6 separate regions of the Homo sapiens genome follow, and regions 2, 3, 4, 5 and 6 are each linked to region 1. Evidence: promoter capture Hi-C in 16 types of primary human blood cells and fetal thymus (Javierre and others, 2016). All regions are on one chromosome and are shown on one strand. Each heading gives the region's core, a stretch centred on a gene start or on the middle of the fragment in contact. The rest is flanking DNA. Distances are from core to core; before and after follow the strand shown.

The links. The method cuts DNA at HindIII sites, captures the fragments that hold promoters and counts their contacts. A CHiCAGO score of 5 or more calls a contact.
Region 2: a contact is called between a fragment that was not itself captured here and the fragment with the promoter of SH3RF3 in region 1, in 1 of 17 cell types (neutrophils). The highest score is 5.1, in neutrophils.
Region 3: a fragment that was not itself captured here is called in contact with the fragment with the promoter of SH3RF3 in region 1 in 7 of 17 cell types (monocytes, M1 macrophages, M0 macrophages and 4 more); the score reaches 7.5 in monocytes.
Region 4: a contact is called between a fragment that was not itself captured here and the fragment with the promoter of SH3RF3 in region 1, in 2 of 17 cell types (M0 macrophages and activated CD4 T cells). The highest score is 6.3, in M0 macrophages.
Region 5: a fragment that was not itself captured here is called in contact with the fragment with the promoter of SH3RF3 in region 1 in 1 of 17 cell types (M0 macrophages); the score reaches 7.0 in M0 macrophages.
Region 6: a contact is called between a fragment that was not itself captured here and the fragment with the promoter of SH3RF3 in region 1, in 1 of 17 cell types (M2 macrophages). The highest score is 5.7, in M2 macrophages.

What each region holds. Positions count from the first base shown.
Region 1 is chr2:109,127,807-109,130,521 of GRCh38, reverse strand. It overlaps SH3RF3 (SH3 domain containing ring finger 3), which reads right to left and starts at 1,317. Exons shown (of 10, transcript NM_001099289.3): 1 at 409-1,317. The coding sequence starts at 981. It overlaps SH3RF3-AS1 (SH3RF3 antisense RNA 1), which reads left to right and starts at 403. Exons shown (of 1, transcript NR_029193.1): 1 at 403-2,715. It also overlaps a transcript of RANBP2 not described here. RefSeq lists silencers at 1,302-1,501, 1,532-1,581, 1,592-1,661, 2,042-2,101. The HindIII fragment of the contact is 8,501 bases long and covers 1-2,715 here.
Region 2 is chr2:109,541,455-109,544,169 of GRCh38, reverse strand. It overlaps SEPTIN10 (septin 10), which reads left to right. Exons shown (of 11, transcript NM_144710.5): 11 at 1-1,371. It also overlaps a transcript of RANBP2 not described here. Among named protein-coding and RNA genes, the nearest start is that of SEPTIN10, 71 kb to the left of the region's middle. The HindIII fragment of the contact is 1,382 bases long and covers 704-2,085 here.
Region 3 is chr2:109,487,926-109,490,640 of GRCh38, reverse strand. It overlaps SH3RF3 (SH3 domain containing ring finger 3), which reads right to left. Exons shown (of 10, transcript NM_001099289.3): 9 at 1-36. It also overlaps a transcript of RANBP2 not described here. Among named protein-coding and RNA genes, the nearest start is that of SEPTIN10, 120 kb to the left of the region's middle. The HindIII fragment of the contact is 2,700 bases long and covers 12-2,711 here.
Region 4 is chr2:109,470,585-109,473,299 of GRCh38, reverse strand. The region is part of intron 8 of SH3RF3 (SH3 domain containing ring finger 3); the gene reads right to left. It also overlaps a transcript of RANBP2 not described here. Among named protein-coding and RNA genes, the nearest start is that of SEPTIN10, 140 kb to the left of the region's middle. RefSeq lists an enhancer at 2,435-2,554. The HindIII fragment of the contact is 4,424 bases long and covers 1-2,715 here.
Region 5 is chr2:109,451,141-109,453,855 of GRCh38, reverse strand. The region is part of intron 8 of SH3RF3 (SH3 domain containing ring finger 3); the gene reads right to left. It also overlaps a transcript of RANBP2 not described here. Among named protein-coding and RNA genes, the nearest start is that of MIR4266, 140 kb to the right of the region's middle. The HindIII fragment of the contact is 8,803 bases long and covers 1-2,715 here.
Region 6 is chr2:109,412,167-109,414,881 of GRCh38, reverse strand. The region is part of intron 4 of SH3RF3 (SH3 domain containing ring finger 3); the gene reads right to left. It also overlaps a transcript of RANBP2 not described here. Among named protein-coding and RNA genes, the nearest start is that of MIR4266, 100 kb to the right of the region's middle. The HindIII fragment of the contact is 8,736 bases long and covers 1-2,715 here.

The sequences.
Region 1 (2,715 bases), core at 68-2,567:
CCTGTCAGAAACGTTAAGGGCTAACTTTTCTCTAGGCAGGCCCAGGGTGTGCAGAGGGAGTGTCTGGGGACCCAGAGGAAGAAGGTCCCCGTTTCTAGGGAGACGCAAGGGCGATGCTAAGTTTAAGAGGCAGGGTAACAAGTCCGGCCAAGGAATCGGGGGTGAGCGACGGGACAGGAAGGCGTGCCCACTCCACAGGAGGATGGGACACACGTGAACAAGCGGCGAGCTGCCCAGGGGCCGGATGCCGCCACCAAGCAAGCGAAGTTGGAGGAAGAGCAACAGCGGAGTGGGCCAACGCAGGACCACCCGTGGTCTCCTCCGCACCTCATCACTGCCCCCCACGCCCAAGCACCCACCCACACACTCCCACGTGCCGTGGCCACTTCCGCCGAGACAGATACTCACCTTTGCCGCCGGCGCGGTCCTGCTGGTCGCCAGCTCCCGCAGACTGCCGGCGGTGCTGCCCGCGGCCGCGGAGAGGAAAACCGGGGAACCCGGGGTGCTGCCTGCCGCGCCGCCCCCGCCGCCCGCGAGCGTGGGGGCCGCACTCTGGCCTGGGATGGGACGCGCGGGCGGGCTGCCGCCGGGGCTGGTGCCCGCGCGGGGCCGCTGACGGATGCCGTCCAGCAGTCGCACCAGCAAGATGTTGGCGGGCAGTTCGTCCACGCCGCAGCCCACCAGGATGCGGCACTCGGGGCAGCGCAGCTCGTGGCGCGAGCACACGATGCTCTCCAGGCAGCGGCGGCAGAAAGTGTGTTGGCATGGCAGCACCTTGGCCGTGGTGTCCAGGCGCTCCAGACACACGGAGCACTCCAGCAGGTCCAGCAGCGACGACTCGTCCATGTCCTCGCCCGCCCCCGCGGCGGTGGCCGCCGCCCGACGCCGCCGTCGCTCGCCTGGCCTGTCCTCGTCGCCCTCGCTCTGCGCAGCAGCGGCGGCCGCCTTGGATGCGCACAGCCAGGACGCTCCGAGCAGCATGGGGGAGGCGCCCGCAGCGGTCTCGCGCGGCTGCCTAGGTCCCGGGGCCGGCGTGGAGCCCGCCACCGGCAGCCAGCATCAGGACTGGGGAGCCGGGCTCCGCCGTGACTTTCTTCACCCCGGCTGGTGGCCCGATGCTAGGGCTGTGGCGGTGCGAAGTGGCTCACCGACCGGCCTGCGTGGCGGGGACCGGCCTGCGTGGCGGGGACCGGCCAGCCGAGCCCGCCCAGTCCTGAGCGCAGCGCCTGCGGCTGCGGGCTACACCTGTCCCGCCGCAAGTCCGCCCCGCGCGGGGGACCGGGGGTGCTGCCGGGCACGAAGCTCAACGGGTTCTGTGCTGCAAGCGGCGGCTCGCGCCTGGGAGACCAGCGGCAGGAAGTGCGGGCAGCGGCCGGCCAGGTCCCCGGGGAGGCCGGGGCGCGGCGTGCACGCTCCTCCGCGCAGCTGGCGAGCCGCACCGCCCCCGCGGCACCTCCATGCGCCCCTGGCCTGCTCGCTAGTCGCTGTCCTCCAGAGGATTCAGCAGGACCGTTCCTCTTCCTCGGCCGCGAGCACGTGCGCGGGGGTGCGCGCGGAGGTCACGGTCACTGCGGGGCTCAGGGAAGGAGGCGCCGTGCCTGCAGGACTTCCCTTCGCTTGGGCGCAAGCCGGCGATTAGCCTGGTCCCCTAGGACATCTCCAGGGCTCCGGGGAACCTCTCCTGCGCAGGCTTGGCCCTGCCTCCTCCAAGCGTCCGAGTCTTTTTCGGCTTTTCGTGAGCCTCAGAGAGGGACGTTTCCTGCCAACGCTGCTGCGAAGGAAAGTTTGGGCGGCGTTATCCCGACTGCCTTCCTCGCCAGCGCCGGCGAGCAGCTTGGGGACACAGCCGACGCCCGGGCATCCTCCCCGACGACCCCCCGGAGCGCTCCCAGTTCAGACTCCTTTCCGAGAAGCGCGCAGAAGTGACAGCCCCGGAGCTTCGTTCCGGTGTAGGTGTGGGGATGCGCCGCAAGGCAGGAGGGGAAGGCGCTCCAGTTGAAGGGGGCACCCCGGGGCCCGCGCCGACTCCTCCCGGCGCAGCCTTGGCTCGCCGGAGTCGCGGGTCGGAGGCTGGCGCCGCTGCCCGCCGACCAGCACCCTGGCGCCAGGCGCCCGGCTCCACGCCGCACCCTTGGCGACGCTGTGCGAGGGGCTCTAGCGCCCGCCGCGGCGCAGTCTCGTGAACCCCCGCTCCAATTTTTTCCTACGGAGGCGCAGAGGAGGGTGAATTCGCGCTCTCCTTCCCGACGCCCCGGCTTCTGGGAGCGTCAGAGCAACGGAAGTACGTACAGGAGGACCGAGAGCAGCAGGGAAGTTTGGCGGTGGGCTGGGGTCGGCGGCGAAGATTCCCTGCCGTGCGCTGCCCCCTCGTGGCCGCTTTGCGTTCCCGTCGGGAAGGGCTGGGTTCCAGTCCAGGGCCCAGCACAAACCAGGATTGGTTGGACGCTGCACAGCGAGTTCAGTCAGGGCTAACATCAGAAGAGTCGTGGGGGGCCTGCCTATCGGCCAGCCTGTCCTTGTGGTTTGTGAAGTTGTATGATCTTTCTGTTATTATTAAGGAAAAAAGTAGTATTTGTTGAGGCTAAAAGGCCAAGAGCGTGCTATATATTATTTAATCCTCTAAACAGCTCTGCCAGATAATTATTTTATTTATTTATATTTACTTCCATAGCTTTAGACAGGATCTCGTTCTGTCAGGCAGGCTAGAGCGCGGGG
Region 2 (2,715 bases), core at 145-2,644, 410 kb before region 1:
GAAAAGTACTTTCAAGTACAAGGTCAATACATAAGCCAGAGTGAATGATACTACAAGTTGAGCATCTCTAATTCAAAAATCTGAAATCCAGAAGCTTCAAAATCTGAATCTTTTTGAGCACTGACTTGACCCCACAAGTGGAAAATTCCCCACCCGACACCTTTGCTTTCTGATGGTTCAGTTTAAACAGATTTTGTTTCTTGCACAAAATTTTTGTATAAATTACTTTCAGGCTATATGTATAAGGTGGATGTGAAACATGAATTATGTAATTAGAGTCGGGTCCCGTTGTGTATATGCAGATATTCCAAACCTGAAATCCAAAACACTTCTGGTCCCTAGCATTTTGGATAAGGGATACTCAGCTTGTACCTATATATTCATATATATTCACTGTTGTTAGAAATGTTTAAGTTGCTGTTCTGTGATGAATCTAAATCTTTTCTCTTGCTACCAAGCTATTGTCACTGCAGTGCATTATACCAAAGAGCGAAGTCAGTGCCACTGAAAATACAGAACCCATTAATATCGTGGCTATCTGATTACATTTATATTCCAAGATGAACCTTTTTTATATATGCTAAAAATTTTGGGGAATATGTTTTGGGATGTATTATGGAGCTAAAACTCTAACCTCTTAATAGTTTTATAGAACTTAAAAATTTTTTATACAATTACCCAATTGGTGATATGATCTTAAGCTTTTGTGTCAGATTATTTAATATGATGACTTCATGCTTTATTATGCCTTATTATGGCTGACGTATTACTGTGGTGAAACAAAATATCTTTAAAAGTTAAAACATCCAGATATATAAGCTATTTTTTCCTAAGGATAAAGTACCTTTGAGCATGAGTGTATCACAGCTTTCATTAGGAAAACTTTTCATTACATACTTGTTTAAACTCTGTCTTCCAGGGTAAAAATAATAAGGTTGAATCATTTTATTAAAAATACTTTTTAAGAAAATAACTATGAACATCTGAATATTAAAGATATAAAAATGCACATAATTCATATTTCAGGTGGTATTTGCATTCAGTGCCTTACTGGTATTCTCAGAACATTTTAATGATTTCTAACATTTCTTAACAGTCATAGATATATACATTTTCATTTTTTGTACTTGAATATTCTAAATAAAACTGACATTTACTCTTGACAAATAAAACATATATTTACTAAAATGTGTTTAATTTTCCTTTCTGAAAACTCTCATTTTAAAAACGTTCATTTAATTATGTATTTGAATTATTTTGGAGATGAGGTATTTTATGAGTATTTTCAGACAATGAAACTTATTAGTCTGTGTCAGATTCTGAGCAATCATAGAGTCATCTAAGTTGTAAATAAAACCTTGCATAGCACAATTTATCTGTATACTTTAAATTTTATTTTTGCATTTGAAATTCACAGATGTCTCTCAGTCTTTTAAAACTTCAGTAAATTAAATTATACATGTCATAGAACAAGCTCAGAAGTTTCTTCGCAAGATCAGTGACACCCAGGTTCTGGTAGGCAGGGAGTCCTGGAGGGTAGGTGACCTGAGGTACAGAGCCAGGCCAGCATCACGGTACTTAGTGCCAGCTGAGCAGACTGTTCACAGATGGGCTCGATGACACTGCGGGAGTGTTTGTTACATATGTGGCTATATTTGACCATACTGTTTATAAAGCAGCTCTCCTTAACTCTGAAGAACGTACTTTGAAGTGTGAGATAGGTTGTTGGAATGGTAAACAGTTATTCAAGTTTCTGGTTGAAAAGAACGTAATAAACCTGCCTGAGACTCTCTAGACTTAACAGCAGGGCGGTCGTTTTGTACTGCTGATGACTGCTGTGAGAAAGCCTCACTCCTGCTTCAGCCGCAATGTGAATTTTTAATTCATTTCATATATTTGGGTTCCATGTAAGATTTTATTTTAAAAGAGTTGAACAACAAAGAAAAAATTTTTTAATGACTTCTTCTTACAAAGCTAATTTATCATCAGGCACAAGATTAGAAAATGAATTATCCACTGAGGCATAATCTCCTGGGAATAAAATAAAGCTAGTCATGTTTTGTTAAAAATTTTTCCCATTAAGCTTATGAAACAGTTGTCTCTAACTAACAGCCGTTAATCCTGGTACGTACTCCCTCCGACTTTTAAAGCCCTTTCACATAGACTAGGATTTGAACTTCAAAGCAACACAAGGAAAAAGCATTACAGGGATTATTATCACTATATTGTGGATGAACTCAGTGTAAGCCCCGTGTTCCTATTGGGCCAGGAAATGGGGACACACACATGACTCAGGTCATCCATGCATCATGGAGCAGCCGGAGCAGGCTGGACAACCAAGTAGGTTTGGAGCAGGGCACTCTCAAAAGGGTGTCTGCCTCTCACAGATCACAAGGAGCCGTCCAAAGAAGTGACTGGTCCTGAAGGACTGGAGCAGTTTATCCAGAGTATGAAAGAAGGAGGCATTCCTAGTACAAGGCACAGCATGTTGTGTGCACTGGAAGGTAGCTGAGCACCATCAGAGTACCAGCAAGGAGTGGGGCTCCGGTAAGGGCCAGGTTTCAGAAGCAGTTAAGGAATGGGTTTATAAATCCCAGGAAAGTTTATAAATCCCGTCTGGCAGGCAGTGGGAGCCATTGAAAGGCTTGGCCTCACAAGGTTAGGTGTTCTCCAGGGTTTATGGGAAGGAGATACTGGCAGGCAGGGGGAGCTGGG
Region 3 (2,715 bases), core at 112-2,611, 360 kb before region 1:
GGCTAGAAGCTTCAGGAGCCCACTCTTCTTCTCTTTCTGGGGAGACACACAAGATGGAAACCAAACAGGTGAATGCTTCCCAATGCCCTTGCTGTCAGAGAGAGGGGAATGCATCTTCCTATGTGGAACTTTATTTTTAAATTTCTTATTTTTTCAGACAAAAGACTTTACCACTCACAGCAACAGCAGTAGCCAGAGTACCAGCATTTTCTTGCACCAGTTCCCTGAACCCCAGTTCCCACGGGTGAACCAGTGAGGGCCAGGTGACGCTTGCAGGCACACCAGGCTGTGTTAAAGCAGAGGACCTGGAGCTTCGGGACACCAAATCCTCTCTACTGGACTGTGAGGATGCTGGCCCTCTGCTCCGGAGTCAAGCAGTAAGCATGCCTGCTCTTTGCTTTGAAGACTGACATTATTTCTATTTTCCAAGGCTGGTGCCTACATGGACATCTTGAAAAGATAGGCCAGCAGATGGCATCTCAGTTGTAAGATGGGTAGAAGGGTGAGAGACCCATGGAGAATGGTTCCATCAGGAAACTTTAAAGATAACCTTGTAAAGTGGCTCAGAGGAGGAAAACAAAGCTAAGACCAAGAGCTCATCCAGGCTGGGCACGGTGGCTCATGCCTGTAATCTCAGCAATTTGGGAGGCCAAGGTGGGCAGATCACTTGAGGTCAGGAGTTCGAGACCAGCCTGGCCAACATGGTGAAACCCTGTCTCTACTAAAAATACAAAAATTAGCTGAGTGTGGTGGCACTTGCCTGTAATCCCAGATACTCAGGAGCCTGAGGTGGGAGAATAGCTTGAACCCAGGAGGTGGAGGTTGCAGTGAGCTGAGATTGCGCCACTGCACTCCAGCCTGGGTGACAGAGCGAGACTCCGTCCCCCCCGCCCACCCCCCGCCAAAAAAAACCTTGTCCGACACTTGTTTTCCTTTCTCTTCCAAAATCTAGCAGAAATGTCCAAAATAGGCCCCGAGGCCCCCAGGGCAGGCCAGTGATGCCATTCTCAGAGAAGGATGCTGCTGACGGGCCATCCCCGACAACACAGCCCTCTCTGTCACGGGACCCTGGCCAAGCCTGGCAACGTCATTGTCTGTGTAGAGGAACCAGCAGTCAATGTCATCTGCTTTCTCCTCCCCCAGCTCTTCTAAGTGGACTTTGTAGGACAGGTGACACGGTTCCTGATGGGACTTTCCGTGAGGCCCAAGCCACGCTGGGGTCTGGTTGTCTAAGAGCACAACTGCTCCGGCCCCAGCCAAGTCCCCCCAGGCCACATGCCTGGATTGTTGTTGCAGCTGTACCAGGGTCTGGGGGCCTGTGGCTGTGGGATACTGCTTAGTGCCCGGTGAAGGGTCTCCACCCGATAAGGTGTCTAAAGGGACCATCCCCATCACCCTTGGTGACCAGCATTTGTTCCACTGTATTCATTAATCCCACTGCATTCAGAGCCTGTGCCCCAGGCACTGCTGCTTATGCAATAGAGAGGGAAAGAGATATAATGAAGGTGTGCCCTGGGCAAGTGTGGATCCCAGCCTCCAACTCCACTGCCTGAGTCTCGGCCTTCGCTCCCCACTTTTCTCAATGTGTTTCCTCCAAGGCTGGACTCATCCTGGAGGTCAGCTGTTCCTGCTTTCAGGCTCTGTACTGACAGTCCATGGGGAGTTCTGGGTGATTTCAGGAGGAAGAGGCGGCCCAGCTCTGAGCCATGCAGCACGGGGATCCAGATACCTGACTCCGCTACTGGGCTTGCAGCCTCCCGGCCTATCTCCCCTCTGCCTCACTCTCCCTCCAATAACTTCCTGAAGGTCTTGTGCACCGTGCCAGGCCCTGGAGGTTGTGAGCAATAGGAAACAGCCTAGAGCAATCAGTTAGACATGGATTTCGTTGCAGCCCTTCATGTGCTGGCAGCTCAAAGTGTGGTGTTTCCCGAGTCTAGTTCTCAGAGAACTCTTGTTGGCGGCACAACTTGAGGGAGAGTGTTCCCAGGAACACACATCGGGAACTGCTTGGGTAGAAACTAGAAAGGAAAAGAAGAAACCGTGAGGGGTCGGGGGCAGAACCCTGGGATCTGAGTGGGGTGCCTGGGGGCAGGGAGTGAGGAGGCTTGTTCAGGCCACGATGTAGGCAGGGCATAAGGCCTGGGGATGGGAGACCCTGCAGCTGGGCCCGTCAGCCCCTCCGCAGGCCAGGAAGGAAAGAACTGCAGTACCTGGGGTGGGAACTGGCTCCCCAGGAGGCCTGAACCCACAGCAAGAGTTCTTGATGAGAGGGTGACCTTGCCTCCAGGGGACAGGTGGCAATGTCTGAAGACATCTGGGCTGTCACAACTCAGGGGTGCTGCTGGCATCTGGTGGGCAGATCCCAGGGATGTTGGTAAACATACTCCAATGCAAGGGAACCCCCCATGGCAGGGTTATCTGGCCTCAAATGTCATCAGTGCTAAGGCTGGGATCCCTAGGTCACAAGGACAGCAGGCCAGGATGCGGGGACAGAAGCCAGGCCTGCCCCAGGTGTCCCGGCGGAGCCCACTCTGCAGGCTCTGGGGCTGCTGGCCGCTCCTCCCCTCCTGGCAGGCAGGAGACCTGGGTGGCCTTGCGTTGTCCAAAGGAAAAGGAATTAGCCTTTCTCTGCCCACTTCTGTTTCCTCTTCACCATGAAGGGGCCTGGTGGCTGTTCATCCCCGTCTAGGCTCCCCTCTAGAATCAAAGCTTTGG
Region 4 (2,715 bases), core at 113-2,612, 340 kb before region 1:
GCTCTGGCTCTGCAGGGCCCAACCCCAGCTCCAGGCTCCCAGTGGTGCCCAGGCGTCGAATGGGGCCAGCCCAGGCCTGTGTGAGGCGCTCGTATGTCTAGGCAGGAAGCCGCTTCCCTGGGAAAATCCATCACAGAGCTTTGCAAGAGTTAACTTGAGTTAATGCTGTTAAATGAGGGGCGATTAAATGCCAGGCTGTCAGTTCTCTTTAGATTCTTGGGACTCGCATCTGAAAGGCTGCAACACCATGTGACCCTGTCTCCTTGCCATCTCAGCCAACACATTATCTTTTCACTAAGGTAGGAAAGGCCCCACGAGTCGGGTAGAATTTATAGCACCACATTCATTCATTTAAAATTGCTTCAAAGGAGATTAGGCCAAAGGTAGGACAGACAGAAATAAGAGGCTGGAGCAGGGCTGTCTGCCCTGGGATATGTCTGAGTGTGTCACGACCCTGTCCATTAGGATAACTTTGCTGTGTGTTGGATTTCCAACGGGCGTCTGGCTGGCTTTCTGTAGGACAAATACAACACAGCCATAAATTATTAGATCAAATGGAATGCATTCAGATGAAATCTCTGTAAAATCTGGCCTCCTTCTGAAGGATGTCTGGAATGAAACAGGAAAAATTAAACACACTATTATTTAGTCAGGTATGGCAAGCTCACTTCCTGAATTTTGTTTTTAAATGAAACAGATGGATGGAAATCACTTCATCCAACCAGAAGGCAGCCGCAGGTCGGTTCATCAATTGGATCGGGGTTTCTGAGGCAGCAACCGTAAATCAAAGCTCTTCTTTCCACAAGTCCTTCCTGATGGCTGCCAGCTTGCCAAGCCCTGACGGGAAGCCCCGTCGGGAAGCCCCGCAAGCTCTGCAGGATGGTTTGGATTTCCTCTTTCTGTGCTTCTTAAGGAAGATTGCTTCCAGGACACCCTGCATGCACACCGGCCCGAGACCACCGAGAGTGCAGGTGAGGAGGGCCCGGGAGGCCCCTGGCCGGGTCCTCTCCTGCCACCGTCTTCCTGGAGCAGCCCAGACCCTGGCCAGGTGGCACCTCCCTGAATAAGTGCCCTGATTTGGGCTTTTATCCCTATCTAATTTTTAACTGGGGACTGCTCCTACATTTCTATAAGGAGCTGCTACCATGAGGTCACAGGTGGTTGTTAATCATATTAACTAATTAATAATAATTAACAATCTAATTAATAATTAGAAAAGGATGGGAATTTGAAAGAAGCTGAGATGTCAGAATCCAGGTGCACACTGTGCTACAGGGCCACACAGTGCAGGGGGCCCAGGACTCTGCTTCTCCCTGAATTGGCAATATAACCATGGAGGAAAATGGCCTGCTTCAGACCAAGTTACATGAACTGCTGTTCACACAGCCCCTGCCTTCTAGAGAACTGCCAGGCATCTGCTCTCCCTGTGTCTGCATAGTCTCAGCAAATAGAGTGTGGAAAAAGTTTAACAAGACGTGCCCCATGCAAAAAGGCAGGACAAGCTATCCAGGACTGTGCATTAGTCTATCTCCTATGGCTAAGCTCTTGGGACCGTCTTATTAGGTATGTGAGGCTGAGACAGCAAGGGGGTGAGTGGAAAAGAAAGAGACTTAGACCCCGCCCCAGCATGTGTCCTGGAGCAGGTGGCTTGGACAGCAACCTCCTCACCCATGGAATACAACAGTGTCTGGGCCTACATGAGCTGTTCCAATGATGAATTTTGCCACTGACTGATATGGTTTGGCTCTGTGTCCCCACTCAAATCTCATCTAGAATTGTAATCCCCATGTGTCAAAGAGGGACCTGGAGGGAGGGGACTAGATCACGGGGGCAGTTTCTCCCATGCTGTTCTTGTGATAGTGAGTGAGTTCTCATGAGATCCAATGGTTTTATGAGGATTCTTCCCCCTTCACTTTCTCTTCTCTCTCCTGCCGCCTTGTGAAGAAGGTGCTTGCTTCCCCTTTGCCTTCCGCCATGATTGTAAGTTTCCTGTGGCACCCCCAGCTGAAACTGAGAGTCAATCAAACCTCTTTCCTTTATACATTACTCAGTCTCAGGTATTAATTTCTTTTTTTTTTTTTTTTTTTTTTTTTGAGACAGAGTCTGTCGCCCAGGCTGGAGTGCAATGGCACGATCTCGGCTCATTGCAAACTCTGCCCCCTGGGTTCAAGTGATTCTCAGCCTCCCAAGTAGCTGGGATTAGAGGCACCTGCCAACACACCCAACTAATTTTTGTGTTTTTAGTGGAGATGGGGTTTCACCATGTTGGCTGGGCTGGTCTCGAACTCCTGACCTCAAGTGATCTGCCCTCCTCGGCCTCTCAAAGTGCTGGGATTACAGGCGTGAGCCACCGCACCCAGCCTAGTCTCTGGTATTTCTTTACAGCAGTGTGAAAATTGACTAATACACTGACTCTGCCTCAGGCAACAGAAGAGATTTCTTATCATGAGGAAGAAGGAATGAAATGTCAGCACCCTTTGTTTGCTGTGAGCTGACTTCCCTGCAAAGGGTCTCTCTAAGCTGTGGCCTGTGGAACAGGGGTGGCTGAGCCGAGGCCTCTACTTCCTGCACATCTGCACCTCTGGCTCTGCTATTTCTGTGATGACCCATCCTCCACCAGCCCCGGCCACAGCAGTTTCTAGGCACCCCATGCGTGGCACTGTCAGAGCCAGTCCAGGGAGCTTGGTGTAACTGCCTGTCCTCCTCCAGACTGCC
Region 5 (2,715 bases), core at 55-2,554, 320 kb before region 1:
CTGTGCCCCGGGAAGTCTCCCCTGACCTGGGCTGACCAGGCGCCTTTGTCGGTGACCCTCTGTTCCCACACGCAGGTCAATCACCCACCCTCTCCTGCAATCAATCGCCTGTTTACCTGTACAGTGACCTGTACTATACTCTGGCTCCTCCAGGCCAGGGTTGACCTTTCCATCATTATGAACCGTGTGCCTGCGCTCTGCCAGGTACATCCTCATGCTCTTTGCAATACACAGATGAGTCAGGGATTGGGGCACAAGTAAGAGAGTGAGTGATGGCCGGTCGGGTGGTTAGGGATGCCAACTGCACGCAGCCCATTGCACCCTTCTCTTCTGGGTGACTCTCCCCTGGACTTAGGTACCCTGAGGGTTCGTATCACCTGGTGCTGATGTGCTCACACAGTTTCAAAACCAGAAAACTGTCACGGATGGACACAATAGGCAGTGTTCCATGGTTGTTTCAAGCACAAAATTCATTTTTAAGTGCAAAAGGATAACTTAAATCCTGAAGACCACCTTTTAAAACCAGATTTGAGTTCTACTGTGTAACTTGTGGGTGTTGGGGGCCTGGCCACAGGGCAGCCCCTGCAGGGAGCAATATGATCAGGCAGGTGGGCAGGAAGAGACCTGGGAGAGTAGGCTGGAGAGGTTCCTGCATAGGCTGGCAGATGCCTGGGCCCAGAGAGGAGCTCTGGTTCAGGAATGGGTCTGGAGAAAGAACTGCCACTCTGTCTGCACTTGTATTATCCCCAGAGGCCTGCACACCACATCGGGCCACGCAGGGAACAGAGCTCAAAGGCCCAATCCCCCTGGATATAGCAGCAGAGCACCAGCCTCCCGGGGACCAGTTTCCCGGGGACCAGCCTCCCGGGAATAGCCTCCCAGGGACCAGCCTCCCAGGGACCAGCCTCCCGGCACCAGCCTCCCGGGACCAGCCTCCTGGCACCAGCCTCCCGGGACCAGCCTCCTGGGACCAGCCTCCTGGCACCAGCCTCCCGGGACCAGCCTCCCAGGGACCAGCCTCCTGGCACCAGCCTCCCAGAACCAGCCTCCCAGCACCAGCCTCCCAGGGACCAGCCTCCTGGGACCAGCCTGCCAGCACCAGCCTCCTGGGGACAAGCCTCCTGGCACAAGCCTCCCGGGAACCAGCCTCCTGGGACCTTGACCATAGCCACTGACACCACACAACACAGAGCTGGTTTTGGGGCTTCTTCCTTCTCCACACACAGGGATATGGCGCGTAAATCTCCCACGCTCCTAGGAGAAAATTACTCCCTACTCTACGGCGCCCAGGAGCTGTATCCACCCTGCCTTCTCTCTGGTACATGCATGGAAGGGCCTGGGTGGAATTTAGCAGCACTAGCGCTAGGAAACTGCGCTGCACTGAGGTATATGCATCAGTGGATGTGGGAGTGAGGAGCTCACTGTCTTTTCCCAAAGAAAATTTAACAGAAACAGACTGGAGAATACTGCCAAATGCTTTAAAAAACCTTTGCCATAATTAGACATGTGTACATCTATGATCAAGTTGCCCAAAGTTAGGAAGCCTGTTTAGTGTAGTCATGGAGGGGTGGGGCTCAGGAAGCGGCCTGCAGGGAGTGTGCTGGCTGCAGCCCCCTAGCCCAGCACAGTCTGCTGGTGCAGGTCACACTGGCTCACTTGCTTCTGAGCAGTGGACTAAAATGACCATCATTTCTGCTCTTCTGCTGCAAATGGCAGCTGTAAATGCCTTGGGCCCTGCTGCAAATTAGGAGAAATTCAAGTGGGAACACAGATGGGCAAAATGTTCACAGGTGGTTTTGTAGACCAGTGCTTGTCTTTGTTGTTTATGAGAGGTGGGAATGAAAAGCACACACAATGTGTGGGAGGGCAATGTGCTTCTCTGCTGGGGTTTGCTGAACCTCTGGACATAAGCTCAGAGGGCCTCACAAAAACCACTTCCCCTCCTGCCTGGAGTGCAGCGTGGACTGCTCCCACAGCATGTGTCCAGCCCCAAGCGTGGCCTACGCACTTCTGCTGCCCACAGAGGCTCGGGAGCTATCAGGGGAGGAGGAGGCTGAGCCACTGTATGTGCAGCTTGCATGGCAGGGCGTCCCTGCATGTCGCCTTTCATCAAGAGGGATGTTGGGGTGTCTTCTGGACTCAACTGTTCTTTGCTGATATAGCACAACTGTTAGAGGGCATAAACCTTAAGAGAAAGCGAAATATTTACAAAGTGTCTAACAGGCAGGCTAGGAACAGACTCAGCTGGTGTTCATTAGCTTCACACTTAGGTGGGTGATGGGGAACAGCATCATCCTCCGTGTAGATTCGTACAGGACGTAATGTCATAGAAACCCACTCAGCAATGGTATTATTGAAGCCAGTCCCATTTGCTTCACAAACTAGAGAGAGGGAATTCTTGGGCAAAGAACTAGAAATGCTTAAGGAACTATTACAGCCCCCACTTTCCAAGTCTGCCCCTGGTTGTTTCTGAGCAGCTCAGAAGAAGGAAGAATGCTTAAGTGAGAGGGTAGGACTGTGAATCCCACCTCTCCCTCCTGATGAGACCCAGCCACATCTCATAACAAGGGCTGCAGGGTAGAAGGGAACAGATTCAAGACTGAACTGATCTTCAAACAGACACACAAAACACAGAGCAGCTGTTGCCCTTCATGCCAGGCGCCCTGTTAGGCTGGAGCAGACCTGAGCTTTGCTAGCTGCATTGGCTCTGCCACA
Region 6 (2,715 bases), core at 85-2,584, 280 kb before region 1:
GGGGGCCATCAGTCCCTTCTCCACCAACAAGATTAGGTCTGAAGGACGTTGAGGGAGGAGCATGGGCCGAGTTTCTAGCCTTGGCCAGATGGAAATGCTGCTGGAGAGACAGGAACAAGAGACCACAGAGGCCATGGGCTCAGTGCTGGACACGCAGTGTTTGGTGTGCCTGGAGATGTCTCAGTGTGGATGATGAGGGTGCTGGTAATGCCAATCAGGAGCTCAGAAGGGACTGGCCTGGGCAGCAGATCTGGGGTCATGTATGTATAGCTGATCTATGAGGCAATGCAGTCTTGTGGCAAAGCCCTTAGCTCCCAGGTGTGTGACCTGTGTTTGTGACCGTAGCCAAGATGGCGTCTGTGAGCCTCTGATTGCTCCTCGTGTCCATTGAGGGTCATGAACTTCTGCTCTGACCATGATGGTAACAGGGGCCAGGTTTACCCTCCTGCCTGAAAAAACTGAAAAACCAGATGAAACCTGAATCAATAGCTCCCAAGACTATAGAAATCAAGCAGTGGAGGACAGAGTCCCCAAGACATGAGAAGATGGGGTTGTGGCAGCTTGCATGGTCTAGACAGCTGGAGTATGAAGTCAGACAACCCACAGGCTATAAAGCAGTCACTCTAAGTACACAGAATAGGCCCTCAACAAAGGCTCGTGATCGTTGTCCTGAAGCCAACAGGGTAGACGGTGCAGTGGCCTGGGAGACAGTGAGGAGGGAGCATGCCCTGGCCCCATCTGCGGGACACCACCCAGAAGAGGGCCCTGAAGGAGGCCAAGATGGGGCAGCCCAATAAACAGAAGGAGACCCATAGCCCAGGGGAGATGGTGCTTCAGAGGGAATGTCATTGTCCATTGAGCTGCATGCTGTGGAATGGCCAAGGAAGCCAAGGACCTAGAAGGACCCACTGGTCTTGGGAATGCTGACATGCACAGGCGCTTCCTGGGGCAGGTGACTGCCCCTGCTGGACCACTGGTGGGGAGTTACACCTCTTGATCCCACTCATGGGATGCGGAAGACCCCAGTGTGCTCCCTGCAGGGAAAGCCCTCACTCCTGGCTTGGGCCAGTGGACCCACAGTCCCCTGGTTTCTGTCCCATTCTGCCATAGTTAGTAACAGAGAAGTCTGCAAACTCAGGTCCTACAAGGCATGGCCCTCATGACATGTCTATGCTGTGTGGAGGGCTGGTGGGGGCAGGCGTGCTGCCCCAGAGCACAGAATAGGGAGGGGAATGTGGGGGCCAGAGACGTTCTCATACAGCCCCAGGTCCTGGTGATTTGGGCTTGTAGACAAAGCTGTTCTCCATTCTAGAGCGGGAGAGACAGACAGGAAGACACAGAGACACAGAGAGAGACAGAGGTAGACAGACAGAGATAGAAAGAGACAGACAGACAGAGACAGGGCAGGAAAAAAAGCCTGTAGCCCCGGCAGTTTCCTGTTAAGAATGAATCCTAAAATAACCAGACAGGCCTGGGGTGGTGGCTCACGCCTGTAATCCCAGAACTTTGGGAGGCCAAGGCAAGCAGATCACCTGAGGTCAGGAGTTCGAGACCAGCCTGGCCAACATGGTGAAACCCTGTCTCTACTAAAATACAAAAATTAGCTGGGCATTGTGGCAAGCACCTGTAATCCCAGTTACTTGGGAGGCTCAGGCAGGAGAATCGTTTGAACCCATGAGGCGGAGGTTGCAGTGAGCTGAGATCACGCCACTGCACTCCAGCCTGGGCGACAGAGCAAGACTCTATCTCAAAAAATATATATATAAAATAATGATAATCAGACAAGTCAGAAAGGAGGTACAGGTAAGGATTTCGCAGCAGCACTGTTTATGATACGAAAAACCTGCACTCCTGAAGTTCCAGGGTGTGGGGCTGGCAGGCTGACAAGGACACAGAATGCCCCACTGCCGCCTGTGCCGTGGTCTCCATGGACAGGCCTGGAGGGCCATGTAGGGTATGCAGAGTGGAAATGGAGGTGACAGCATTGCATATGAAGGCTTATCTAATTTCTGACAGTGATACGTGTATTTTCATGGCAAGAAGTCAGGAAACTTACATACCAAACCATAACTTTGCTCCTTTGGGGAGTTGCCTTTTGGGATAATTTTATTATTTTTTAATCTACACTTTAATATCAAGTGACAATGGTTTCCTGAAACATTTCCACAGTGGTATGAGAAGAATAACAGAGTTAACACTTGAGGTCTGGCTGACGGTAAGCCCGTATCTTTCTCGATCCCCCATGTGCCATCTTTGTCAGGGGATCCTGGGAGCTGACAAAGGGCAGGGGTGACCCTGCAGCACCAGCAGGGGCTGGGCTGGCAGTTCTGTGCTCCCAGGCACTGGCACTCTGCTCTGCAGCAGCGGGAAGAGTGGGAACCTAAGATGATAGGCACGCACTGGTCCTGCTGTTGTTACCATGCCTGCTGTCCTGTTCAGATAAATGCTCCAGAAACAGCCAAGCTGTCCCAAACCAGCATAGCACAAGCAAAGCACAGCCAGAGCCACGCTGGGGCCACACTGGGAGGGTGGCCTGCCTGAAGCCTGCCCCGGCACTTGGATCTCCACCTCCCAATGTCCTGGAGCTGCTCAAGCCATACTCCAATGAAAGGGGGGCAATGTGTTTGGCCAGGAGAGACCAAGGAGACTGTGTTTTGTCTGCTGGGCAGAGGCTGAAGGCTAGGCTGAGAGTGCACACTGTGCGGAGCACACGCA